Linked DNA regions of Homo sapiens: regions 1, 2, 3, 5, 6 and 7 are each linked to region 4. The links are contacts of gene promoters, found by promoter capture Hi-C in human tissues and cell types (Jung and others, 2019). All regions are on one chromosome and are shown on one strand. The core of a region is centred on a gene start or on the middle of the fragment in contact, and the rest is flanking DNA. Distances in the headings are between cores, read along the strand shown. Region 1 has its middle 100 kb from the start of GALNT13. Region 2 has its middle 65 kb from the start of GALNT13. Region 3 overlaps GALNT13 (polypeptide N-acetylgalactosaminyltransferase 13). Region 4 holds the start of GALNT13 (polypeptide N-acetylgalactosaminyltransferase 13). Region 5 overlaps GALNT13 (polypeptide N-acetylgalactosaminyltransferase 13). Region 6 has its middle 84 kb from the start of GALNT13. Region 7 overlaps GALNT13 (polypeptide N-acetylgalactosaminyltransferase 13).

Region 1 (4,146 bases), core at 323-2,822, 100 kb before region 4:
TTCCTTTACAGATGATGCTTCTCTATTGCCACTCTTAGCATTTTTTCCTTCCTGTTGACTTTGGATAGTTTGATTATCATATGCCTTGGTGTGGTTCTTCTTGGATTGTATCTTGTAGGAGTTCTCTGAGCTTCTTGTATCTGAATATTTAAATATTTCCAAAAGCCAAGAGATTTTTCCTGAATTATTTTCTAAAATATATCTTCCATACTTTTTTACTTTTTTCTTCCTCTCCCTCTGGAATACATATAACTCATAAGTTTGAACACTTTACACAGTACCATATTTCTCAAAGGATTTGCTCAGTTTTTAAAATTCTTCATTTTTGTCTGAGTTAATTCAAAATGCCTCTCTTTCAGCTCTGAAATTCTTTCACTCAATTTAGCCTATTGTTAAATATTTCAATTGTATTTTGTAATTCCTTTAATGGATTTTTCATTTCTAGGAGTTCTGTTTAGTCTTTTTGTAATGATGTCAATCTCTTCTTTATATTCTGAATTGCTATTGTGATCTATTTGTGTTGCTTTTCAGCTTTCTCTTTAATCTCATTTAGCTTCTTTAAAATGAACATTTTGAGTTTTTTATGTGGTATTTCAAACATTTCATTTTGGTTAAGATCCATTGCTGGAGAGTTAATGTAGTGCCTTGAAGGCATTGTGACACTTTGTTTTTTTCCTATTTTTAGAGTTCCCACCCCCCCGCCCCCCCACACCCCGGCTTTTTCTCCTCTGGATAATTTATCTCCCCTTATTTTTTGAGTTAGATTTCATTTGGATGAAATTTCCCACCCTACCCCTCATTGTGGAGGTGGCTATAATGTATGTTGTCTATGGTCCTTTGACTTTGGTCTGGTTGCTTTCAGTGACCAAGAGTCTGTTTTTAAGTTCCTTGGTTATAGATAGCCCTTTCATAGTGCCTTTTCTAAATTCTGGTTGTAGTAGTCATGTTCTAGGCATATGAGCAGGTTCACTGGCACCTATGAGGCTGAAGCGATATTGGTATCAGGAAGCTTATCTTGCTACCCAGTGCTACGCACTGGTGTTGAAAGATTTCCTATTGTGTTATGCTGTTTCTCCTCGAGGCCAGTGGGTGGTGCTCATGGGTAAGAGCCAGAGAACTTCTCCCAGTAAACAAGGATCAAGTATATATTCATTTGCATCAAGGATCAAGTATATACCCATCTACATCATCAGTCACAGCTGATACACATAGGTATGTATACTTATTCCTTGTTTACTGGGAGAAATTTTCTATTGTCTCAGACAATGGGCTGATCTGTGTAATGCACAGTAGTCTGAGCTCCGTGCTCAGCCCTGGAGGGAAGGACCAAGATGACTGGGGCAGAGCTAGGCAGACCCACCTACAGGTTCCCAAATGGTAGGCATAGGCACCATCTTTGAGGTGTGGTCTTGTGGATAGCCATCAAGCACCTAGAGGTGTGCCTAGGCATGGAATTGGAAGACCTACATTGCCCTAAGTTCTCTGCATGGGAAGGGGGGTGGCCTAAACTTCTAATCTAGAAGAGTTGGTGCTCCAAACACCTGGAGATATGTCTGGGTGTCAAGCGGAAAGAACACCACTGCACTAACATCTCTGCAACTGAAAGGAAAGGTGGCTCAGGCTCCTAATCCATGCAAGTATATGTGCCTAATACATGGAAATATGCCCCAGCAATGATTGGAAAAACTGCTGTTACATGGGCTTTACAGGGGATGGGAGAAAATACTTAAGTTCCTAATCTGGTTGGGGGGCAGATGTGTCTCAAGGTGGGTGATATGCCCAGGGAAGGAGCAGAGAAACTGCCACCACAACAAGATCTTTGTATAGGAAGGTCAGGACAGCTCAAACACCTAATATGTGAGAGTGAGTGTGCTAAATGCTTGGAGTTACATCCAGGTGTGGAGCAGAAGAAGTGCCACTGCACCAAGTCCTTTGCATGGGAAGGAAATGGTACCTCAGGCTCCTATTCCAGGAAGGTAGGTACACCAAAAACCTGGAGATATATCCAGGTGTGGAGCAAAAAGTTTACCTTTGCACCAAGATTTCTGCAAAGGGGATTGTGTAGTCTCCTAATCTAGGGTGGCTCAGTCTCCCAATCCAGGTGAGTGTTTACTTCGATTGCCTGGAAATGTGTCCCTCTGTGAGACGGGAAGTTATCACTGCTACAACAAAGATTTTGTAGGAAAAAGGAGGGGCACCTCAGGCTGATAATCCAGGTGAGCAGGTGTGTGCTGAATGCCTGGAAATATGTCTAGTCATAAAGCGGAGAGGACTCCAGTGCCCCAAAATCTCTGCACAGAAAAAGAGCAAAAACTTACTAATCCAAGTGAGTGGGTGATCCAAATGCCTGGGAATATGCCTGGGTGTGAGGTGGAGAGAGGTTCACTGCACACAGATGCAAGAGAAGGATGGGTTGGACCATACTCCCAATTCAGGTGAGCAGGACTAGAGTGGGGCACTCTACCCTGGTTGACCAAGGGAGCAGTCCGGGGCACCCAGCAATGGCATATGTAGGCTGGTTCCAAGTCACAAATCTGTCTCTGGCTGCAAATCCCAGATTAAATCTTGGCTTGAGCAACTCTTCTTGCTGCAGTCTTGTGACTGGAGAGAGCTGATTCCAGTGCTTACCACTGAGGTGCTCTCCACACTTGCCATTCAATTCTGGCTGTGAGCATTAGTCCTCCAATGCAGAGCAACTACTCCAATCTCTGGCCCTTGACCAAAATGCCTGCAGTGGCTGCCGCTTCCAGGTCACCAAACAACGACTGATGTTCTATAAGCCTGAATTGAAAATGATTTCCTCCTCTCAGTTCTGGGCATCGGAAAATGCCTACAGCTTTTCCCATTATCTTTTCCTCTGCCTGTCTCCTCAAGTTTTCTCCAGGGCTTCAGAGGAACTAGGTGCTCTCTCTTGGCCTGGGTTGCATGGAACCCTAGTGGGAAGGTGAATCACAGCAGGAGACTCTGCTTCCTCATGTACTGGTGCTTCTCTCACTTTTATCAGCTGAATGCCATCACGGGGCTGCTTGCCCACTTTCTCCTCCCTGAGATCTGGGTTGTTGCTCACTATTCCAGTGAATTCTCATTTTCCTTCTTGAATTAAAGCTCAAAGAGTTTATCTTTATGCACTGTTTTGCTATTTCCAAGTGGCTGAGACATGCTAAAAGCCTCTAGTACGCCATCCTGGGGAAAAAAAGGTTTTATTAGCTTTTTTTGGAGCTGTTGTGATCTCCTGATCCCTTATAGTCTTCAAGTCCTTGCAGTAATGTCTACATTCGTAGAGACAGCCACTCCTCTGGCTTTTATAGGTATTTTTTTGGCAGAGATAGGCCTTGCCTATTTAGTCTAGCCTATGATTCTAGATGGGCCAGATGGTAACAACCCTGGGCAGGCAGGGCTTGTTTTAGGCTCTCTACATGGCTGGGCTGCTGCCCCTGCTCTGATTTTAGGTGAGACTGCTCGCTGGACTCCCTCTGCAGTGAAACCACTGGCTGAGCTCTGCAATTGAAGAGAGCTGCAGGGTGGCCACTACAGTTGCCTTTGACTGGGCCAGGCCACAGAATGTGACTCTGCAATTGGCCACAGCTGCTGGATGGCCACTGCAGTTGCCCCTGATTGGACCTGGCCAATCAGATCTCACTGGGTCTGGCCTGGTATTCCTTGACCAGGTGGTACTGCTATTTGATATTTGTAATTGGACAAGGTTGCAGACTGGGCCCTGAAACTAGGCAGAGTCACTGCTTGGGATGGATGGGACCAGTTTCTATGCTCAGTAGCAATGACAGGTTGAGGTTTGCTTCCCTACCTAGGTCGGGTGGGCTTTGAGGCTGAGCTGAAAGCTCCCAGTGTAACAGAACTAGTTCTGGCACTTGCTGTAATGCGCTGTGGCAAGTTGTCTACCTCTCTGGGCAGGTGACATTCTTCATTTATCAAACTAATTCTACTATCGTATTGGATACCAAGTCAGTCACTTGCCACTTTAATTTGAATAGTTTAGATCAGTGAGATTTTTGTAGTATTGTGTATTTGCATTTAAGCTCTATGTGGAATAGAATATAGATGTCCTTTATTGAAGTAATTTTAGATGTCAGGAAGAAAAGATTTCCCCTCTTTTTCTAGGTTTTTTTTCTCTTTTCCCTTACTTTT
Region 2 (3,973 bases), core at 550-3,049, 65 kb before region 4:
AAGGTTTGAGGAGGAAATGAGAACAATTGGTAGTCAAAGAAAGCTCAACATTTAGATAATATGAATCTCTAAAGACAAAAAAATCAAAGCAAGGGTATAGAAAAATACTAAAATACAATAAGTAACATATAATGAAAAGAATTATATTTTCATCAAAAATTTTAACACCAATAATTTATTCCAAAACGAAATTGAGTAATAAAATACTAAAGAAATTAAAATGTGAGCCGCTAATTTTGTATCTAGCAAAGTTGATTTTCAAATATAAAGGTCACAGACAAACTTTTTGTGACATGTAAAAACTCAGTAAATTGTTTCCTTTTCTGAAGAATCTACTAAAGGGAATGATTAGGCAATGAAAATGACTAGAGAGACATTGACATAACTAGTGATGAACGTTAACTATATAGTTACTTGTAGAATGAATCCTACATGAGTGTTACAAGGAGGAGAATATAATATGCTCAGACCCTGTAGATGTAGTACAACTATAGCAAAAAGCGAGGTGGGGATTATAGGAATAATATATGTAAAAATAGTTTTGAGAGTTCTCAGTGGATGTGGTGATATTAATATTGTTAGTCTAAAACTATGGTATATGTAATGTGTGAAAAATTAGTACTTATGAGATTTACTAATTCTGTAATTCATTGTCCTTTGAAAGTAGGATTCTGATTCTTTATGAAGAAGAAAGCAGATACAAGTGTAATACATGTGATTAATTTGAAAAGCCTCTAGTACTAAATTTGAAATGGAAGTATAAATATGGAATTAAGAGTATCCTGATTTATACATATATAAACATATATAATATAGTGTGTGTATGTGTATATATAGTGTATGTATGTGTATATATTCCTAGCTTTCCTACCAAAGAGCCTAGAAACAATGACCACCTCAGAAACAATGTATATCCCTAGCATCTGACATCCAGGTAGTCTTAAAATACTATTTCTCATGAAAATACTAGGATTGCTTGAAAAATGTCTCATGATGTATCTGCGGCAGCAAATGTCCAAGCTAAGTCTAAAACATCTTGTTATACCAATTGGTAATAAAGCTATCAAAGATTACTAGAGTAATGTTAAAAATTAGTAGATTTATGTCAGAAGGAGACAATTTGAAGAAGCTCCCACTAGCCAAAGATAGAATAATTTGTACTTTAATAAGGATAATTGCAATTGACTTAAATCCATTACTATACTATATTGACAACAGATCAATAAGGGGAAATAAAAAGCATTTATCTTATACTACTGGGTGAATAAATAACAGAGGAGAAGCGTGTCTCTTTATAATAATATTCTAACTAAAATATAGGCGGGAAATTATATAAATGAAATATCACTAATTTGCAATCCCCATTGAATTAATCAATTTAAGCATTGAATATCAACAGCTGCCAATGTCACAGAAAGAAAGGCAACCACAAATTATGTGGCTCTCTAGGAAAGAAATCAATATCATTATCATGATGTCAAAGGGGTTGAACATGAGTCTGATAAAGAGCCTGGATTTACCTGTCAATTTGTAAAAAAAAAAAAAAAAATAGGCAGAGGAACATACAAAGCTTTACCATGAGTATAAAATCAGTAAACTTTAGACTCTTTAATGCTGTAGGCCAAATGATTCAGATTCTTCAACAGGTAAATAGTGAGGGAAAGGAATAGAAGGGAACCTGTAGATGAAAGGAACTTAACAACATGCTGAATTTTTAAAAGTTAGTCAATGCCACAGAGCTACAGTGTTTCAAGATGTACACTTTGGTGAAAAAAAATTATAATGAAACATAGAAATGATTACCATAAAAGTTAAGAGCATAATTACTTTATGGGGAAGGCGGAAAAGTGAAGGGGATTGGGAAGGAATAGGGTTTCGGAGGTAGCTGGCAATGTTCTTTATCTGCGTGTTGGTTACAAAGGTACTTACCATCATCATTATTCATGCCCAATCCGTGTAGTAACAGCACAAAATAAAAAGTTAATTTCCTCTTTTAGCAACCCCATCCCTCTTCTCTCATAAGTTATCACTTATGACATACTCATGTATATCCTCCCAGATATTTTTCTAACCTTTTATATTAGATAGATAGACATATATATATATACATGTACATATGCAATAATGTATAAATATAAACTTGAATAAGGTTTTTATGTATTTTTTATAGAAATGCAATCAGCCTATATATATTATCCTTTGACTTCCTTTTCTCACTGAAAAATATGTCTAAGCTACATTTTCTATTAGATAACTACCTTTGCCTCATCCTTTTGAATGGCCATATGATATTTCTTAGAATGGCCACACAATTATTTAACTGTTTTATTAGATATTGTATATGTATAAAATATTTATAAAAATATGAAAAATATAAAGACCAGTGATGAAAACTCCCATCATTAGTTTAAAATATAGCTCAATATCTTTGAAGTTTGCTGTGTATGCCAGACCTTTTCCCATCCTCTTTCCTGAGTTATTTTACAGTATCAGGTTGATTATCCTCAAAGTTTAGTGTTTTGTATTCATATCTTCAAGCTTTTATTACATTTCTTTAAATGTGTTATAATATTTATTTTAATTCTGTGTTTGATAATTTCATTATCCATAGTCTTGAGACGCTGGGATTATTGTCTTGTATTTCATTTGTCCATGAAACTTTGTTTCCTTGTGCATTTTGTGACTTTTTGTTTACTGTGAGTTCATAACTTTTTGGATCTTTATTTATAGGAATTCAGTTTTAGGCATGAGTTAAAGCCTTCGGTTATTTTCTTAGTGGTAATTTTCATATGATTTTGATAAATGCCTAGCTAAGTTACTAACCTGAAACCACTTTCAACTGAATTATCAACTTCACTTCAAACTTTCTCATCACTGGCTCTTTAATGTGCACTTAGGAGCACATGGAACAAAGTGCAAAGTCAATGCAATAGCCCAAAGCGCTGTAGTTAATACTGTGATAGGCAGTTTAAAATATAAGTTACAGAAATGTGACTATGTTTTTTCTTCTATAATACTGGCAGCTTTTGGGGGCTTTCTGTATTATTTCATTCTATACTGAAACTACCTAAAAAGTCAATATTAGCAATATTCTATAGTTCAGCAAACTGAAGTGTGTAAAATTAGGCTATTTTTTTCCCACGACATTTTCAACTGGTGCCTGTTTCATCTACCACATCCCATACCATAAGCCTAGAGGTAGTATAATTGTCTTTCTTATTTCTCATTACCATTTTCAGCCCATTTTTTCTTTCTACTCTTCAAATCTTGGGTTCTTTGAAGTACCTGCTTGCAGACTAGATTTGCTATTAGTTCTCCTTTTTGCTGTCATCTAATCTCCAGGGTTCTCCCCTCGGTTTTTAACTATCTTAATATCCAGCTCATTCCCTTTCTAACTTTATTCCTGACATTATTTCTTGTGACTTCAGTCTCTGTTGTTGATGTCTTTAATACTTAGCTTCTCAGAAAATCTCATATATAAGAACCCTACTCTGACCACTACATGCTGTCTTTCAAGTTCACATTAGCTTCTTCTCTCCAACAACTCTTTTGCCCACATTGAAACATCCAATGCTTTGACCCAACCTATTTTTCACTGTCATCTGCCTTATCTTTTTTCTTAATTTTCTCTTTACCTATATTAGCCTCTGTGATTAATCACTTTAATCACTGTCTTGCAGAGGCCCTCAACTCCTTGCCTTTCCCTAATGTGTTCAAAATGTGCCTGGCAAAATGCCAAGCCTGCTTAAACTCATAATTCTGCTTATTCTGTGCATACACCTGAATATCTGAACATGGGTAGAGAAAAAGCACAACCACACTGACTGTTTTACCCTTAAATTTATAGTCACTAATCTTTTGTGGGCACTCAGTAATGCTAAGCATTCCTATTATATTTCCCTAGTAAATTGACTTGCTTTGTCATCAAAATGACTCTCATATTTTCTCTCTCTCAATCACCTTAAGCTCTCTT
Region 3 (3,925 bases), core at 539-3,038, 120 kb after region 4:
TTCTTGACATATTAGATGATTTGCAAAAGGATGCCAAATTTTGGTGGTAATGACTTTTATTCTTTTACTTTTCAAAAAATGTAGGTAAACCCCCTGTGCAACCATGATCATGCTTCAAGTACTTAGATCGTTTTTCTTTTGAATTAACTCTTGTATATTCAACAGAACACTTAATTGTTTTCTTTTTTTTGTTATTATTATACTTTAAGTTCTAGAGTACATGTGTACAACATGCAGGTTTGTTACATATGTATACATATGCCATGTTGGTGTGCTGCACCCATTAACTCATCATTTCCATTAGGTATAACTCCTAATGCTATCTCTCCCCACTCACCCCACCCCATGACAGGCCCCAGTGTGTGATGTTCCCCTTCCTGTGTCCAAGTGTTCTCATTGTTCAATTCTCACCTATGAGTGAGAACATGCAGTGTTTGGTTTTTTTGTCCTTGCGATAGTTTGCTGAGAATGATGGTTTCCAGCTTCATCTAAGTCCCTATGAAGGATATGAACTCATCCTTTTTTATGCCTGCATAGTATTCCATGGCATATATGTGCCACATTTTCTTAATCCAGCCTATCATTGATGGACATTTGGGTTGGTTCCAAGTCTTTGCTATTGTGAATAGTGCTGCAATAAACATACGTGTGCACATCTTCTTATAGCAGCACGATTTATAATCCTTTGGGTGTATACCCAGTAATGGGATGGCTGGGTGAAATGGTATTTCTTGTTCTAGATCCTTGAGGAATCGCCACACTGTCTTCCACAATGGTTGAACTAGTTTACAGTCCCACCAAAAGTGTAAAAGTGTTCCTATTCTTCCACATCCTCTCCAGCACCTGTTGTTTCCTGACTTTTTAATGATCGCCATTCTAACTGGTGTAAGATGGTATCTCATTGTGGTTTTGATTTGCATTTCTCTGATGGCCAGTGATGATGAGCATTTTTTGATGTGTCTGTTGGCTGCATAAATGTCTTCTTTTGAGAAGCGTCTGTTCATATCCTTCGCCCACTTGTTGATGGGGTTGTTTTGTTTTTTTCTTGTAAATTTGTTTGAGTTCTTCATAGATTCTGGATACTAGCTTTTTTTCAGATGAGTAGATTGCAAAAATTTTCTCCCATTCTGTAGGTTGCCTGTTCACTCCGATGGTAGTTTCTTTTGCTGTGCAGAAGCTTTTTAGTTTAGTTAGATCCTATAACTAAACTATTTTAGAGTTGATCAACAATTTCTGTATATGCAAATAATTTAAGTGTCTATACTAATGTAAGAATATCCATGACAATATTTTTTATCTTATTGAGAAATATATATCACCATTTTATTAAAGATTTAAGCTTTCTTAGATGATTTCATCTAAGAAATAATACAACTAAGAAACAATTAATTAGATTAGATCTCATCTAATATAGTTTAGTTATAAACATTTGCATATCTATATTAAATACTTTCCGTGTTTTCAGCTTTTTTGTATTTAATGTAAAACCCACATATTGATAACTTGTTTAAAATGCATAAAATCAACGCCTTTGATTTGCCTATTTAATAAATAAAATTGAACTCTCAGTTCATTTTAATTAAAACATTTATTTTATGTTTAATTTTCTACACTCAGTGCTGTGTTATACATAAAAATAAATACCACTGCCTGTTCATTTTGGAACCAAAGAAGGGTTGTATGTAAATTAATAAGAATTAGACATTGTCATTTCTCTCAGGAGCTCAGGGGCAACTTAAAGATATTCTCAGTTATTTCATAACTATCATTTAAATTTTCTTTTTAAAAGTTTTTGTTTATATTTGGCACATAATTTTACATGTTTATAGGGTACAGTGTGTTGTTTCAATACATGTATACATTGCATGATGATCAAATCAGTGTAGTTTTGATCTATCCCTCAATGTCTATCCCTCAATCCTTGATCATTTCTCCGTGGTGGTAACTTTCAAGATTTTTTGTCTAGCTACCTTGAAATATGCAATACATTGCTATTAGCTAAAGTTACCCTATTATGTGATAGAACATCAGAACTTATTCTTCCTCTCTAACTGTAACTTTGATAAACCAACCTCTACCCTACCACTCCCACCTTCTCCCTTACCTCTTCAGCCTCTACCTAAACACTATTCAACTCTCCACTTCTATGAGATCAACTTTTAGAAATTTCATCTATTAGTGAAATCTTGCAGTATTTGCCTTTCCGTACCTGGCTTATTTCACTTGACATTTTATCCTCTAGATTTATCTGTGTTGCCACAAATGACAGGATTTCCTTCTGGTTTTAATAGCCGAATAGCATTCCAGTGTGTAAATACCACATTTTCTTTATCCATTCATTGGTTGATGGATGCTTAAATTGCTTCCATCTCTTGACTGTTGTGACCAGTGCTGCAATAAACATGAGAATGCAGTTATCTCTTCAGCATACTGATTTCATTTTCTTTGGATAAATACCCAGTAATGAAATTGCTGAATCATATAGTAGTTCCATGTTTAATTTTTTGAGGAACTTCTATACTATTTTTCTATAATGGATGTACTATTTTATATTCTAACTAACAGTGTATAAGAGTTCTTCTTTCTCCACACCCTTGCCAACATTTGTTATCTTTTGTATTTTTGATAATAGCTATTCTAACTGGGATAAGGTGATATCTTATTATGGTTTTTATTTGCATTTCTTTTGATGATGAGTGTTGTTAAGCGTTTTTATCCTATATCTACTGGTCATTTGCATGTCTTCTTTTGATAAATGTCTATTCATGCCCTTTGCCCATTTTTGGATGGGATTTCTTTTTTGCTATTGAATTGTGTGAGTTCTTCATATATTCTGGATGTTAACCCCTTGTCAGATGCATAGTTTGCAAATATTGTCTCTCATTATGTAGGCTGTAACTTCAGTATGTTGACTGTTTGCTTTGCAGAAGTTTCTTAGTTTTACATAATTTCATCTGCCCATTTTTCTTTTATTGCCTGTGCTTTTCAGGATCTATCTGAAAAATTCTTCTTGAATCAATTTTGTGAAGTGTTTCCCCTATGCTTTTTTGTAATAGTTTTGTAGTTACAGGTCTTATATTTGAGTCTTTAATCCATTTTGAGTTCATTTTTGTATATGTGAGATAGGGTCCAATTTCATTCTTCTACGTGTGGATATCTAGTTTTCCTGGGACCAATTTTCTTTAATTGAATGGACTGTCCTTTCTCCAATGTGTGTTCTCAGCACCTTTGTAAAAAGACAGTTTACTGAGATGCATGGATTTGTTTCTGGCTTCTCTATTCTGTTCTGTTGGTCTTTGTGTCTGTTTTTATGTCAGTACCATGCTGTTTTGGTTACTGTGGGTTTGTGGTATATTTTGAAATCAGGTAATTGGATACCTCCATCCTTGTTTTTTTGCTCAAGATTCCTTTGACTATTCTGGGTCTTTTGTGGTTCCATACAACTTTAGGATTGCTTTTTCTATTTTTTGAATGAATGCCATTGGTGTTTTGATAAAGATTGCATTGAAATTATATATCACCTTGGATAATATGGACATTTTAATAATATTAAGTCTTCCAATCTATAAATATGTAATATCTTTTTATTTGTGTCTGCTTCATTTTTTCATTAGCATTTTTTCATTACTGTTTTATAGTTTTTGTTGTAGTGATCCTTTACCCCCTTGATTGACTTTATTCTTAGGGGGATATTTTTGGCTATTATAAATGGGGTAACTTTCTTGATTTCTTTTTTACATAGTTTGCTATTGCCTTAGAAAAAATGCTTCTAGATTTTCTGTGTTTATTTTGTACCCTGCAACTTTACTGATTTCACTTACTAGTTCTAACAGTTTTGTGGTGGTATTTTTAGTATTTTCTACACATATAATTATGTCATCTGCAAACAGGGACAATTTAAGTTCCTTTTTAAAATTTTTTTAAA
Region 4 (4,013 bases), core at 292-2,791:
GACTAGTAAGTAGCTGTATCAGCATCAGAACCCCAATCTTTTACCTGGTCCACAGTTTTTCTCAGTATGCCATGTAGAGGTGAGTGACCTGATGTTAGGACTGGAATTCACTAGAGAGAGCAGTAGAGAGACATTCCAGAGTGTTATGAGTGGGACCCTGTGTACTCACACATGCACAGAAGCATCTCTGGTAAATGCTCCATAATTGACGGTAGGGCAGGATGGACAATGTAGGAGGAGACATTAATACAGTTATTAACATAGAAATTTAAATGATACTTGACTCACGAAAAGATATAAAGATAATATCTCTGGAAATTGCCTTTCATGAGTATAATCAAGAATGGCATTGACATACTAGATTATGATTAATAGTATCATATGTTTGTCAAACGTGGCTGTTTAATATTTTTATGTAGTCGTTATATCCTCCCCCAATTCTGCCAAAAACATCCTATAAGATGTGTGAAGTGACACTGTGAGAAGCAAGGACCCCTGTCAGCCCTTATTACAAACAAGACAACTGACACCCGAAGGGCCAAAACTAGCCAAGAGCCACAGTGAATAAATTGCCAAGCAGGCACTTGAACTCGGCAATCCCAATTTCCTAGAAAAGTTCCTCTCCCATGGCAGTGGGGGACAGGTCCCAAGTCTTTGAGACGCTAATAATGTCTGCGTCTTAGGTTTCTGCCTTGTGCCAGGCACTGTTCTAAAATCTTTACATGTATTTAAACTCAGTACCATGGGGGTATTGGTACAACACATTAACTGAGACATTCATACGTCCAGGTACTTCGGAGTGGGTGTGTGTTTAATATCATACCTACTTGCCTGAGAAAGGAATTCAAAGCCCCACTTTTTTCTTTACCTCTTCATAAAAATTTGAGAGCCACAAGGAAGCGCTCTGTGTTTCCAGTACTCTTACAGTGCGTTCGGTGGCAGTAGTCACCGCCAACCAGAACACTAGGATCCTGCCAGGGTGTAGATACTGTAACCAACAAGAGGCCAACCTCCGTCCTTTCTGCGGAGGGCGCCGAAGCGTCAAGTACCCCGCAGCATCTCTCGGCTGGAGAGCCGACGGCAAGGGTGGGGTTGCCGGCGCTTTCCCCGAGGGCAGTCTCTGATCCTCCAGCTCCCCTCTAAGAGGCTCCCTGGTGCATTGGGCGAACGCGGTGCACGCAGGCCGGCTTTGGCGTTGTGGGGCCCCAAAGCGGCCAGGGGTCGCGAGGCGCCCTCCGGCGAGAGGAGCTGACCCCAGGGTTGCTCTTGGGGGCCGTGCCTGCCAAGTATCGCGGGACTTGCGCACATCGCAGAAGCGCCAGCTCCAGAAGCAGCTGGAGCGCGCTCGGTGCGCACCGCCCCAGCCCGGGGAGGAGCGGGAGCAGGGAGGGAGGAGGGCTGGGGGTGCTGGTTACGTAAATGATACTAGCCCAGTGAGAGGCCTCCAGGCTGGGGCTACGAGAGGAGGAGGGACCACGCGAGGAGGAGGGACCGGGAGGCGGCGGGCTGGGGTGGGAGGGGGGCGGGGGCCGGGGAGAAGTGACCAGGCGGCGGCGGCTCTGCTGAGGTGACAACGTGCTAGCAGCCCTCGCTCGCTCTGGGCGCCTCCTCGGCCTCAGCGTCCGCTCTGGCCGCGCTCGAGGAGCCCTTCAGCCCGCCGCTGCGCTATGAAGGCCCCTCTCTGGGGCTGGCCGAGGCTGGAGCCGGCTCCCTCTGCTCGCGGGCAAGTGTGAAGAGAGAGGCGCGGGCGGGAGCCGGGGCTGCGCGCGGCGCTCGCGGGCCGGCGCGGGTTCCAGGTGAGCGCGGACTCGGCGAGCCCCGCACTCGGCGCGGCCGGCCGGCGCCTGCTGGGCTTGATCTGAGGCTGAATCCCGTGTGTGGACCGCCGTTCCCTCTTCGCGGGATCGTTGGCCAGGATAGCAGGTCTCCGTCTCTTTCTCGCTTCCCCTCTTTTCCTCTTGATTGTCTGGGACGAGCTCCCTCTGGGCTGCCAGAGTGCCGGGGCTAGGTGCCGCAAAGTCCCGCGGCGAGTGCCGGGGCGCGGAGCCGAGCGCCCCGGGCCGGTCCCAGGGCAAAGGCAGGGGCGCGGGCGGACCTGGCGACGCGGCCTCCCGGGAGCTCCGAGTGCGCTCGCTTGCGGGGCTGCAGGTGTTGCGGGAGGACCGCGTGGCGCGGAACTTTCTGCCGCCGCCCACCTTCTGCTCTGCTTTTCTGGCTACCCCGGTGAGTTGTTGGTGGCGGGGGGGGGGGGGGGAGCGGCTCTGGCCCCCTCTGCGTTCTGGTGACGTTCCTCCGCGGGGGTGGCTCGGCCTCCAAGCCCAGACAACTTTCTCGCACCAGCTGCAGGCAGCCCCGGCTGCGTTGCGGGCGTTTCTACTCGACCCGACACCAGGCGCTCCCTGGGTCTTGGGTGTCTTCCTCGACGGTTGCCTTCGTATAGTGCCCCCTTTGCCTCGCTTTTTCAGAGTCCTCTTGCCTCTCATTCTCGCCGTGTGTGTCTCTGCCTCTGTTTCTCTTTCTGAGCCTTGGTCCCCTCAGTCCACACTCTCCGGCCATGTATCTGTTTTTTTCTCTTATTCTGTTTCCCTCTTTCTTTCTTGGGATATCTGTGTCCCTGTTAATCTGTCTTTCCTTTTGTCTCTCCGTTTTGCAACATTTGTTCTCTTTCTGTGTCTGCTTCTCGCAGCTTATCTCTGTCTCCCTCTGTCATCTCTCTGCCCCGTCTTCCCGAACACCAGCCCCGCGATCCCGAAGCGCCTTGGTTAGGGGAGCAAGCCCTGGCGCATCTAATGGGTATCTCCAGGTGCAGAGATTTTCCTGCGGGGTCAGTGGGGACGCGGAGGAGACAGCCTGCCCTTGTCCAGGCTGTCGTGGACCTGAAGGAGGGGCGCAAGGGGTTAGAGTGGAGGGCACCGCAGCAGGCTCCCCTTGCCGGGTCCGAGGGCGCTGCGCTGCTGCGAACCTGAGCGCACTGAGGCTGCTACTCTGGACAGCGAAAGCTGCGCAAGCCCCTCCCGCATACCCGATTCTTTGACTATGGTTAGTTGAATTTCCAGGAGGAGAGTCTGCCTCCCCAACCTTTATAGCCAGCTGCAGAAGAACGGACAGTGAGCAGGCAAACATAGATGCTTTGGGGTTCAGGGAAACTAACCTCGAAAGGGTGGGAGCTTTCTTCAGGCAAAGGTGTTGCTAGCAGAGGAGAGGAGCTTTGGGGACTGAGGTATGCCTGCCTTAAACTACCATGCATTCATTGCTTAGGAAAGCGGTTTCCTTGGAGAGATCGTGGTCAGCCTTCCCTGAAACAACATAACAACATAGAGGTTTTATTCGCAAGGCTAAAGGCACTTGGCTGCCAAAGCCCCCTTGAAATTTCTGGTATCCTTGAATATTTTCAGCTTTATGTGAAAGCTGCCTTTCCTCAGAGTCTCAGTCCGTCTCTCTCTCTTTCTCTCTCTCTCTTTTTCTGTGTCTCTCTCTCTCGCTGTCTCCCTGTCTCTCTCTCTCTGTCTCGTTTGCGTTCATGCCCTCTAGTGTTAAAGAAACCTGCTGGTTCGAGAATATTGAAAAGTAAGGTCAACCTATTGGTTATTTACTTTTGGACCTCTCACCTTCCGGGATAATTCTCCTTGTATTACACGCATCCTTTCCTTTTCCTCAAAGAATGACTTTTGCATTACATTACTAATCTTTCTTTCCCCCCGCACCCCCCTCCCGCAATCTCTGTTTTTTTTTTTTTTTTCTTTCCCCACGTCTCCTGCAGAATAAGAACCTTCATATTGAAACCCTGTTCGTTTGATTTGGGAATTGGATAGGTCTGGAGAATTTGCGTAGCCTAAGGCAGACTTTGAACATTAAAAAGATGCATTTCTCTGCACTGTTTGCCATAAACCAGGATTTCACATCTCTCCTTTAGCCCCTATCCACCTTCAATTCCATGGAGAATTTTCCTGGCTGCTTCTGCTTGTTTAAATAAATGCTTTTATTTCACCATTTCTGTGATGCTTATCCCATTC
Region 5 (4,069 bases), core at 1,380-3,879, 72 kb after region 4:
CTTCTTTTAAGAGGAATATTGAAATACAATATATAAGATTATTATTTTATAAGTGCCAGGGGATTAGATTTCTGTGAATGATAAAGTTTAGCCTGTTTTCAAGGTGTAGGTGTTTTCAAAATATAGGTAAATTTCCAAATTAAAAAATACAAGCAGAGTCTGTTTCATAATTACATAAGAAGTTTAAACAGCAACTTAGTTTTTCACATGATATAGTTAGAATTCTTTCAGTGCTAATGTCTTAATATATAGCACTAGCAGGCTATGAAATTAGGATAATTTGAATACTGCTTGAAGTGGCAATAATATGTAATTTTGACTTTTTATCATAAATAAAGTTTAAGTTAAATTCTCAATAACCTCAACTGTTAGGCTTTTATTAGGAAATGACTTATCTTAGACATTTCAATATTTAATTAATACTGAGTGATTTCAGATTTTCTATTATAATAATATTCTTCATCTTTTCTTGAACGATTTTTTAAATTCTTTATCTTGATTAAGCCTCACAATATTTTGTGAGATTGATGGGGCAGGAAATATGTTATAAACAAATGAAGCACTGAGAAGCAAGATACCTACCTAAGGTCATCCCTTTATTTGATGACAGAGCCAGGGATGGTGCTGTTTACATCTTCCAGGATCATTTATGTATATGGCACTCCTTATAAACTTGGGAATGGCCGTGTAGTGACCGTCAATGTTATAGGTACTTCTCCATGGAATTATTTTCTACAATAAAGTGAAAGGATCTACCCTATCTTAAGACTGAAGACAGAACATTTGATAGCTTGAATTGTTTCATATCTCAAATTTAGAAAAGAATGTACACGGTAACAGGAAATAAATATGGGATAATCATTCCTTTATTATCAGGTTTAGAGGCTGATTTCCAATATTTAGCTATCATTTTTATAGAAAATTAAAGTGGAAATGAAACAAAGTAGATAATAACATGTTACTTTTTTCTAAGAAAAAAAACCCCAAATGTCATGTATTCTTTGGATTTACATATATCTCTCCATTATATATATATATACACATTCTGAATAAATGTAAATGTAATTTTTTTGTAATTACTAAAATAAAATCTGTTACAATAATTATTTTGTAACTGGCGCTTTATGTGAATTTTGAATTTGTTGCTAGTTTAGGTTGGTTATAACAGGCAACAGAATTTCTGTTGCTTTATGGTGCTGTCAGCTGCTGTTAATTTAAAGAGCTTGTGCTCATCAAATTATACTTTGATGTTTTTGAGACAAACGTTTATGAAATATTTCAAGTGTCTTTGTATTTAATACTGTTCACCCCAATTAGCTCTGTCAAAACTTCATCACTTATCTTATTCACATCAATAAGCTTACATTTTACTCGATATTATTTAAAATGTAACAAATGATATCAGAATATGTTTTGTCTGATTTACTTACTTTATAGATAAAAGTTGGTTAACCAGGTAGTTAAACAAATGTAGTAGTATAAATAAAATGCTCAATGTAGTATAAATAAAACAAATAAGTGTAAGGTATTCATTCTACACTTACCTTGAAAAATGTCTCTTAATAATTATGTACATATCTTTGTTATAGCCTTTAAATTCTTGCTCTGATTATTTTAAATCATTTATGTTAATATATTTTTCCCCTGATAAATTGGATGCGTGCTATCTATTCTAAACACACATTTATTGTAGATACTTTCTCTGCAGATCAGCTGGGATTTTAGAGGCTGTGTAATTATTGATCGTGTCTTGCAATTGCTCTACTTAAGAATATGAGAACAATTTTTTCTGTTTTATGTATTTATTTTATTTTATTTTTACGTATGTATGTATTTTTTTTTTTTGAGACAGAGTTTTGCTCTTGTCACCCAGACTGGAGTGCAATTGTGTGATCTCAGCTTACTGCAACCTCCACCTACCAGGTTCAAGTGATTCTCCTGCCTCAGCCTCCTGAGTAGCTGGGATTACAGGCACGTGCCACCATGCCTGGCTAATTTTTGTATTTTTAGTAGAGACGTGGTTTTACCATGTTGGCCAGACTGGTCTCAAACTCCTGACCTCAGGTGATCCGCCTGCCTCGATCTCTCAAAGTGTTGGGATTACAGGCGTGAGCCGCCGTGCCCAGCTCTGTTTTATGTTTTATTAATTATCTGTTCTGCAAGATGCTTTATAAATATGATTCTACATAATCCTCATAACAAATGAGGTTTAGCTTTGGCATTTCTATCCACATTATACAGATGAGAAAACTGTGGCTTAGAAAGTCTTCTATTCTTAGGAGGTGTACAGACCCAGACGTGTCTGTCTATGAAGGCCAGATTTTAGCCACTATAATATATTGTATCCCAGGATGATTTCTATTTCAGAATTATTGGCTAGTCAGAAGTACTGAATTAGAGTAAAGTCAGAATTGCACTATTTGACAACCTGGAGCTATAAAGAATATCATGATATGACTTTAAGTTCATTACAATACAACTTAAAGGAATCAAGTAGTTTGTCAAGGGCCTGGCAGAGTAGTGGCAGATCTAGTATTAGGTATTAAAATGTTAGCCAACTAGCTTGCTAGCAACTTTCATTTATTTAGGCTTTTAATTTTGGATTCGAAGGCTTGAGTACTGATATATTTGAGAACATTAAATAAGTCATACATTTCATGTTATATGTTCTTTATCCAAAAATCTATGTGTACAATTAATGAAATTTTCTTCTTTGTTTTAATGCAGTGGAATGTATCCTGCTTTCATCTTGGAGTTCACCTGTGTGGCTTGGATTTATCACAGTAGCATTTGTCTTCAATCTGTGTGTTAACTAGAAATCAAGGAAAGACATGAGGAGATTTGTCTACTGCAAGGTGGTTCTAGCCACTTCGCTGATGTGGGTTCTTGTTGATGTCTTCTTACTGCTGTACTTCAGTGAATGTAACAAATGTGATGACAAGAAGGAGAGATCTCTGCTGCCTGCATTGAGGGGTAAGTGCTTATGAAGCAAATACTGTCTTTATAGAGATGAGAAAAGTGGTGCCTTGACAAAATGAGAAACTTCAGAATCAGAAGAGTTTTGCCTTAGTGAGTTAGAAGAGCATTTTGGCAGCACTATTAATGCATGTTTAACCATGGGGAAGTTACTTTACCTTTCTTGGTCTTAGGCGTCTTCTTGGAAGAAATAAGAAGAGTTAGCTAACCTCTAAGATACCGTTCAACCTAATAAATTCTGGTGTTCTGTGACTGTATGAAAAGAACAGTTGAGTGAACGTTCAAACTGGGCAGAATTTTAAATCTAGGCTGCTAGAAGCCAAAAGCCTTTAAAGACCAAGCACATAACATAAAACGGAAAAACCACTAAAGTGAGACAGGTGGCGATTTTAGCAAACGAACTGTGCATGAATGACACCGCTAAAGACTTCCAAAACAGTTGAAATAAAACAACCAATTTTTAAAACAAAACACATGGCGGTATGCAGATTTACCAGATTGCTGGCTGTATGTTAAGTGAAAAAGATAATTTCAAGTATACTGTAAAATTACTTTATTTCAGTATTTTCCTCTTGAGGGACCAGTTTCAAAGACTAAATATGAATGTAAACATAATAATTTGTATGAATGGTTATTTATCAAGTAAAGCCATAGAGATTTGTTTTCTGTGAAGTTATTCCAGTTTTCTCTATGCTTTCTTTTTTGTTAACTTCAAGATCTATAAATATATTTCTAATGTATTCCTAGAAAATTCAATACTTCTAAAATATGTAAGAGTACTCAAAATTAGTTTTATTCTCATTGAACTAACATATTCTCTGTTTGGCAAAAGTTTTCTGCATAAATATGACAAAAAGCAAGCTTCAATTGAAGTATCATGACATGTTTGTACCTTTTGGAAAAGTGAATCTAAATTATCAAGTTGAGATTTACATTTATTTAATGAATATGATCTGCTTTTAATGTTATACATATTTTTGAGATATTTATTGAACAAAATATTTAATAAACAGAATCTCATTAACACTATCAGGTTACATGAAATTTAGGGAAACAGAAGAGCATTTCCAAAATTTAATTTTTGTTCAAAGAG
Region 6 (4,104 bases), core at 1,096-3,595, 84 kb before region 4:
GAAAAGTGGTCAGACTGTTCCCCATGGAGGCCTGACTTCTAGGGGAGACCCAACAAGCTCCCCAACGAGCAGGGCCCCAAGCTTATGCCAGCAGTGCGGATGCTCCACCTCACTGGCTGAACACTCCCAGTAACAGCGGCTCCAAATTCCTTGGAGGTGGAGCCCCCAGGGGCAATTCCTCACTTCTCACTGGGCAGGGCTGCCTGATATGGGACTCCATCACAACCACCCTGCCTGTAACTCACCACTTCAATCAGAGGCAGCCCAGCATTTCTCTGAAGAGGAAACCCAGAGTCAACCAACAACCCTTCTGGCACTGCAGTTACAGTGGTATTTATTACCCTAACAGTCCTTGGGATGGGGAAAGAACAAAGAACAAAGTGCGTAGTCACTACGCTGACACCTCCAGCACACTGCAGCCACCATTTGGAGAGGAGTCCAGCCCCTCTTCGCCAGTTGGGACTCCTGGCTCATGACTGTGGACCAGTCACCCTACACGGCTGAGCATACTCACTTCTAGTGGCCCAGAGTTTTCCTAGAAAGAGGCTCCCAGAGGCATTTGACAACTCCTCTGCCACTGCCACAGCAGCACTTTAATCCCTGCTGCCCTTGGGGAAGAAACAAAGAGCCTAGGGCTACACTGAGCTTACAGCAACCCACAATTATGATACTGAGAGGAGATCAGTCTCTCCTCCTGGTGAGCCTTTGACCCCCTCCTCCCCAACAAGCAGGGCCCCAAGCTCATGCCAGCAGTGCAGCTGCTCCACCCCACTGGCTGAACACTCCCAGTAACAGCGGCTCCAAATTCCTTGGAGGTGGAACCCCCAGTGGCAATTGAAAGCCCCTCTGCCACTGCCACTGCAGTGGTACTACCCCTGCTACCCTCAGACTAACAAAGGAGCAAAGACCATAAGTATCTGTCCACACCTCCAACAAGTAGCAGTTGATCCAAGGATAGGAGGCCGGTCCATCTTCCATGGGTAACACCCACTCCCACTGTTCATAAATAGGCAGGGAACCGCTGGCTCGGGTCCACAGCACAGGACCCCCATCTTGGGCTAATCACGCTGAGTGGTTGCTAACCTGAATCTCCTGGGGTGGAGCTCCCAGGAGACAAGTAAAAGACCTTCAGCCACAACCACTGCTAAGGTCCCTTCCTCTGCTGCCTCCAAGTTGGGGAGAAAACATAAACCCTGAGATTATACCAGAGATATGATGGGAAGCCCAGGAGTACTAAGCTGTGATCTATGTCCAGCACTCAAATGGGAGGAGAGCCCACACTGTCAGAGCACCAAGAGGGAGAACAACTGCAAATGTGAGGAAATATAGGGGAGCCACACAACTGAGCAAAAGCCTACCAACTGACCGCTACACTTAAGTGCCACCTACTGGATCACACCTCAAAGCTTCAACACCAAAACTACCTCACTAGCATAACCCCCTGTGAAACCAAATATAAGTCAGCTGCAAATAAAGACCCTGTACAAAGGCTCAGTCCTGTGAAGATTCAGAAAATAAGCCTACTGACTGTACTCAATGTATATGACATTTAAAGAAATACCCACATTCAGAGATGAGAAACAAACCAATGCAAGAACTCCAGCAACTAATCGGCCAGAGTGTCTTATGTCCTCCAAACAACTGCACTAGTTCTCCAACAAGCATTCTTAACTAGGGTGAGTTTGCTGAAAATACAGAACTGGAATTCAGAATATGGATAAGAATAAAAATCAAAATTCAGGAGAATACTGTAACATAATCCAAGGAAACTAAGAATCACAATAAAACAATACAAGAGCTGACAGACAAAATAGGTAGTATAAAAAAGAACCTAAATTATCTGATAGAACCAAAAAACATACTACAAGAATTTTGCAATGCAATTGCCAATATTAACAGCAGAGGGAACCAAGCTGAGGAGGAATCTCAGAACTTGAAGTTTCGCTGTCTGAAACAATACAGTCAACAAAAATAAAAAAGAACAGAAGGGAACAAGCAAAACATTTGAGACATAGGAGATTATGTAAAGAAGCCAAATCTACAAATCATTAGCATCCCTGAAAGTGACAGGGAGAAAGCAAACAACTTGAAAAACACATTTCAGGATATTATCCATGAGAACTTCCCGAACCTAGCTAGGGAGGCCAATATTCAAATTCAGGAAATGCAGAAAACCTCTGGCTTGGGCCCATTCAAAAATAGATCATCCTCAAGATACATAATCATCAGATTCCCCAAGGTCAAAATGAAAGAAAAAATAATAAAGGCAGTAAGAGAGAAAGGACAGGTCACCTGTAAAGGGAAGCTCATCGAACTAAAAGCATACCTCTCAGCAGAAACCCTGTAAGACCGAAGAGATTGCAGGCCTATATTCAGTATTCTTAAAAAGAAAAGTAACTCCAACCAAGACTTTCATATCCAGCCAAACTAAACTTCATAACTGAAGGAAAAATAAGATCCTTTTCAGCCAAGTAAATGCTGAGGGAATTTTTTTTTTTTATCACCAGACATGCCTTACAAGAGCTCCTAAAAAAATTACTAAATCTTGAAAGTAAAGCCCATTACCAACCACTACAAAAACACACTTAAGTACACAGACCAGTGATACTATAAAGCAACCACACAAACAAGTTGACATAATAAACAGCTAATAACACAATGACAGGATCAAATCCACACATATCAATATTAACCTTTAATGTAAACATGCTAAAAGCCCCAATTAATAGGTAGAGAATGGCAAGCTGGATAAAGAAGCAAGATCCAATTGTATGCTATCTTCAAGAGATCTAACTCACATGCAATGACACCCAGGCTCAAAATAAAGGGATGGAGGGAAATCTGCCGAGGAAATGGAAATCAGAAAAAAAGCAGAGGTTGCAATCCTAACTTCAGACAAAACAGACTTTAAACTAACAAAGATCAAAAAAAGGCAAAAAGGGCATTACATAATGGTAAAGGATTCAATTCAACAAGAAGACCTAACTATCCAAAATGTATATGCACCCAACACGAGATCACCCAGATTCATAAAGTAAGTTCTAAGGACCTTCAAAGACACTTATATTCTCACACAATAATAGTGGGAGACTTTAACACCCCACTGACATTATTAGACAGATCATTGAAGCAGAAAATTAACAAAGATATTCAGGATCTGAACTCAACATTGGACCAAATGGATATGATAGATGTGTACAGAACTCTCCACCCTGAGACAACAGAATATATATTCTTCTTATTGCCACATGACACATACTCTAAAATTGACCACACGCTGAAACATGAAACAATCCTCAACAAATGCAAAGAACCGAAATGACACCAAACACACTCTCAGACCACAGCAGAATGAAAATAAAATCAAGACTAAAAAATTAATCAAAACTATACAATGACAGGAAATTAAACAACCTGATCCAGATGACTTTTTTTGGGTAAATAATTAAGGCAGAAATCAAGAAGTTCTTTGAAGCTTGTAGAACAAAGATGCAACATGCCAGAATCTCTGGGATATAGCTAAGGCAGTATTACTAGGGAAATTTATAGTACTAAATGCCCACACCAAAAAGTCAGGAAGATCTCAAATTAACAGCCTAATATCACAAGTAGAAGAACTAGAGAAGCAAGATCAAACCAACTCCAAAGCTAACAGAAGATCACAAATAACCCAAATCAGAGTTGAACTGAAGATCAAGGCACAAAAGTGTATTAAAAAATTCACCAAATCCAGGAGATGGTATTTTGAAAAATATAATAGATAGGCCACTTGCTAGACTAACAAAGAAAAGAGAGAAGATCCAAATAAACACCATCAGAAATGATAAAGGAGATTTTACCACTAACCCCCCAGAAAAACACATAACAATTATAGGCTGATATGAACACCTCTATGCACACAAACTAGAAAACCTAGAAGACATGGATAAATATCTGGACACATACACCCTCCTGAGACTGAAGCAGAAAGAAATTGATTCCCTGAGCAGACCAATAATGAGCTCCAAAATTGACTCAATAATAAATAGTCTGCCAAGCAACAAAAGGCCCAGGACTAGGCAGATTCACAGCCAACTTCTACCAGATGTACAAAGAAGAGCTGGT
Region 7 (3,690 bases), core at 946-3,445, 100 kb after region 4:
TGGCTATGAACATTGCATGCCCTCAATAAATATTTCCTGAATGATCATTTGTAATAGGTCCACATCTCAAGCTGAAGAACAATTTGATGTTACCAATGATTTATAGACTTTTACTTTGAACTAGTTCCTGAAATTATCTTGACATTGTGCTTTTTCCTTTGAACCTTCTTGCTGCCTTGATGTTCTTCCCCTACCAATCTTTTCTCCACACTGATGGCAGATAAATCTTCCTGAAACACTATTTTGTGGCTGTTACTTGCCTGCTCAGTGTCCTTCAATAATTTCCAACTAACGGCAGCTCTAAGTCATAACTCCTTACTTTGGCACCAGAAACTGTCTATGGTCTGGCTAGACATAGTCTTAGCTTCAAATACTTTCCTAAATATTTGCTGTATAGTGGTTAACAATCGTACTTTTGTATGAGACAGATTTGTATTTTAATCAATCTGTCATTACCTGAAGGTGTGACCTTGTTAAATTCATTTGCTATTGTGAGCCTCAGTTTTTTCATCTTGAAAATAAGAATAATGACCACATGGATTTTTATTCCTTCCTTCAGTAAATATCTATTGAGTGTTTTTTATGTGCTAGTCACTTCTGTAGGTATTGGGATGAGTCAATAAAGAAAGTAGGCAAAATTATTTTGGAGCTTGCATGCTAGTGGAGGAGATAATAAATATAACAAATAACCTATAGAGTAGGCTAATAAGCAATAAATGCTATGTAAAAAAATAAGTGGATATGGGGCTATTAGGAATGGAGGAAGAGTTCTGGAGAAGAGGAAGGATGGAAATCAGTCTAAGCATAAATGAGATATTCTTCCTGCCTTGATTTCCAGAAGTCATGGTTACCAGAAGAATTAAGATTTTTAGAGATAGACTAATTCAAGCTTCCTATTATTTGTTCTGTCACTAGGTCCTAGGAAATTGGAGTCATGTGTAAGGAAAAGAAAGTTGGTTTTGACAGTCTCCCTATGTCTTTGTGATGTAAAATAGTCTAGAGGAAGGAAATCTGAATGTTTTTTCTTAAGTGATAAGTGGGAAACTTTCACAATCTTGATTAGTGTATTATATGGGTAGCATCATTAGAAAGAATGGAAATTATTTTATACCCATTCCTTTATTTGCATATGACTGTCTTTGTTGTTTTCTTTGTGTTTGGGTATAAATAAGCAAATTAGGTAGGAAATATTAAAAAGAATTTCAGCAAAGCTTTTATTCTTAATTCAAGGAAATGTATTTTGACATTAATGTTTTTTAACCCTCATTATTAACCCTGTGATGGCATCTCTTGGCCTTCTTATCATGCCTTCAAATGTGTGATTATTCATTCCTAACAATGATTACATGTCACATTTACCTGGAGGATTTGAAAACATGCTTTTTCTTAGATACCATTCACCCCTGCTCCTTTTTTACTGGTGCTTTACCAAATTTCTCAGTTGATTCTAATATGCATCCTGACCTGAGAACTACTGACTTACATGGTCTGGCACATGCCTCTCTCTCTAACCTTATCACCTCCCATTCTCTTTATCACTTGCCTTTCTCTGCACTCAGGCCTTCTTTTCATTTGCCCAAATTGCAAGTTATGTTCATATCAGTCCCTTTGCATTTTCTACTCTTAACTACTCAAAATGCTTTTCCACAGAGTCATTCATTTAACACTTCAACACATATTTGTTAATTAATCACCTATTCACTCTACCGTGGATGAAACTGAAAAAAAATAACAATTCTTCTTAATTTGGCTGCTTTCTTCTCATCATTAAATGATTCAATAGAGAGTTGTTGGCCAAAAGAACCAAAGTTTCAGTTACACAGGATAAGTGGGGAGATGATGTATAGCTTGGTGGCTACAGTTCAGAAAACTGTGTTGCATACTTGAAATTTGCTAAGAGAGTAGGTCTTAAATCTTCTCACAGCACTACACACACAAAAAAACGGTAACTGTAAAGTGATGGATATGTTAATTAGTTTAATTGTCATAATGATTTCACAACGTATACCTATAAAAACATCACATTGCACGTCCTAAATATATGCAATTTTTCTTTGTCATTTATACTTCAATAAAGCTGGGGGAAAAAGAAAAATAAATAAATATCACATCCCAACATACCTCACCTGACCATTCCAGCTGACATTGCCACTTCAAAATTATTTTGTCTTCCTTATTTTATGACAGCTCTTATCTTGTTATATATTTTGATTTTGTCTTACGTATGTATGTGTTATTGTGTTTACAACCTGTAGAGGATATGTTCTATAAAAGTGAAAATTTGTATATCTTATTAGCCATTTTATCCTCAGTGCTTAGATTAGCATTGGCTGGAACATAATGGGTACTCAATAATCAATCAATTAATTAATTAATCAATCTGCTTTACAATGTAACTAAATGTGGTTTCTGTAGTTCCTAAACTGAGTCTTATCTACCATGAAGATACTGAAGTTTAAGGTTTAGCACCCATTTTAATCATGAATCATTTTCAATCAATTTTATCTTTGTAAAGCAGTCCTTCAAAATTCACAAATTTCAAGCCTTATAATAAAATCTGGATGTCTTCTGTTCCTAAATTTTCTTCCAAGCCAATTAGGTATTAGTTTATCAGAATAACATTTGTTTTATTTCAGTTAAAGTAGTAAAATAATTTTGCTCTAAAGAACAAGCTATATTGGAATCATGGGTTGAGTGAATAAAACATTTGGAACCAATAATAAATGGTTGAGGTAATAGCTCATTTTGGAAAACAAAAGCCATTCATTTAGCTTTTCTCGTAGAAATAGATTTTTTTGTCAATCGATTATGTTGGGTTACTTATAATAAGTAACATAGTAAATACATTTAATTCCATATTACTAAGTGATTAATTCCCACAGCACATTTGATATTTTTAGAAAATTTGCATATTTTTGTAACAATTGGCAAAAAATTAATATGGAAACATGAAAAATTATTGATATGGGTATGCATTTAAAATAAACTTGAGCTTAGTTAGGAAATAATAATTGAAATAATTCCATCTACACATTTTTTAAGCACTTGCACTATACCTCCTCTAATAATAGAGGGCATACTAGTCATAATTGAACTGATAAATCATTTTATCTTTAAGTTATTTTTAATATTGCTTTTGTCAATAAGGGAATATTTTTCTTTGAGAAAGCAATGAAAGCAAGCTTTGTGCTTGACATAAAATCTAGGTGTAGTAAGCTGTCATTCAAAATCCTTTATAATTTGACTTAAATAAACCTTTCCATCAACTGCCTCTCAAGGAAAGGGTACTACTGACTTATTCAAAGCATAAATGATTCTTTTATGCCTGTATACTTGCTCATATTATTTTATGTCTAGCATTACCATGCTACTTGTATTAGTATGTTCTCATGCAGCTAATAAAGACATACCTGAGACTGGACAATTTATAAAGGAAAGAGGTTTAATTGACTCACAGTTCCTCAAGGCTGGAGAAACCTCAGGAAACTTTAAAGCAGAAAGGGAAGCAAACACATCCTTCTTCACATGGCAGCAGGAAGGGGTGGTGCTCAGCAAAGGGGGAAGCCCCTTATAAAACCATCAGATCCCGTGAAATCACTAACTCACTATCAGAAGAACAGGATGGGGGAAACCACCACCATGATTCAATTACCTCCACCTGGTCCCTCCCACGACATGTGGGGATTATGG

Evidence for each region. Contacts are between HindIII fragments. The study calls those that stand out against the background at their distance.
Region 1: a contact is called between a fragment that was not itself captured here and the fragment with the promoter of GALNT13 in region 4, in 2 of the 25 tissues and cell types used here (hippocampus and neural progenitor cells).
Region 2: a fragment that was not itself captured here is called in contact with the fragment with the promoter of GALNT13 in region 4 in 2 of the 25 tissues and cell types used here (dorsolateral prefrontal cortex and hippocampus).
Region 3: a contact is called between a fragment that was not itself captured here and the fragment with the promoter of GALNT13 in region 4, in 4 of the 25 tissues and cell types used here (H1 embryonic stem cells, heart left ventricle, mesendoderm cells and 1 more).
Region 5: a fragment that was not itself captured here is called in contact with the fragment with the promoter of GALNT13 in region 4 in 6 of the 25 tissues and cell types used here (H1 embryonic stem cells, adrenal gland, aorta and 3 more).
Region 6: a fragment that was not itself captured here is called in contact with the fragment with the promoter of GALNT13 in region 4 in 3 of the 25 tissues and cell types used here (hippocampus, neural progenitor cells and spleen).
Region 7: a contact is called between a fragment that was not itself captured here and the fragment with the promoter of GALNT13 in region 4, in 5 of the 25 tissues and cell types used here (H1 embryonic stem cells, mesenchymal stem cells, mesendoderm cells and 2 more).

The regions. Positions count from the first base shown.
Region 1 is chr2:153,769,470-153,773,615 of GRCh38, forward strand. It overlaps a transcript of GALNT13 not described here. Among named protein-coding and RNA genes, the nearest start is that of GALNT13, 100 kb to the right of the region's middle. The HindIII fragment of the contact is 4,962 bases long and covers 1-4,053 here.
Region 2 is chr2:153,805,149-153,809,121 of GRCh38, forward strand. It overlaps a transcript of GALNT13 not described here. Among named protein-coding and RNA genes, the nearest start is that of GALNT13, 65 kb to the right of the region's middle. The HindIII fragment of the contact is 3,834 bases long and covers 1-3,716 here.
Region 3 is chr2:153,993,733-153,997,657 of GRCh38, forward strand. All of the region lies in intron 3 of GALNT13 (polypeptide N-acetylgalactosaminyltransferase 13), which reads left to right. Among named protein-coding and RNA genes, the nearest start is that of GALNT13, 120 kb to the left of the region's middle. The HindIII fragment of the contact is 5,491 bases long and covers 1-3,925 here.
Region 4 is chr2:153,870,381-153,874,393 of GRCh38, forward strand. It overlaps GALNT13 (polypeptide N-acetylgalactosaminyltransferase 13), which reads left to right and starts at 1,542. Exons shown (of 13, transcript NM_052917.4): 1 at 1,542-1,923. The HindIII fragment of the contact is 9,874 bases long and covers 1-4,013 here.
Region 5 is chr2:153,941,667-153,945,735 of GRCh38, forward strand. GALNT13 (polypeptide N-acetylgalactosaminyltransferase 13) reads left to right here. Exons shown (of 13, transcript NM_052917.4): 3 at 2,728-2,973. The coding sequence starts at 2,832. Among named protein-coding and RNA genes, the nearest start is that of GALNT13, 72 kb to the left of the region's middle. The HindIII fragment of the contact is 4,583 bases long and covers 339-4,069 here.
Region 6 is chr2:153,785,916-153,790,019 of GRCh38, forward strand. It overlaps a transcript of GALNT13 not described here. Among named protein-coding and RNA genes, the nearest start is that of GALNT13, 84 kb to the right of the region's middle. The HindIII fragment of the contact is 4,836 bases long and covers 1-4,104 here.
Region 7 is chr2:153,973,902-153,977,591 of GRCh38, forward strand. The region is part of intron 3 of GALNT13 (polypeptide N-acetylgalactosaminyltransferase 13); the gene reads left to right. Among named protein-coding and RNA genes, the nearest start is that of GALNT13, 100 kb to the left of the region's middle. The HindIII fragment of the contact is 5,725 bases long and covers 1-3,690 here.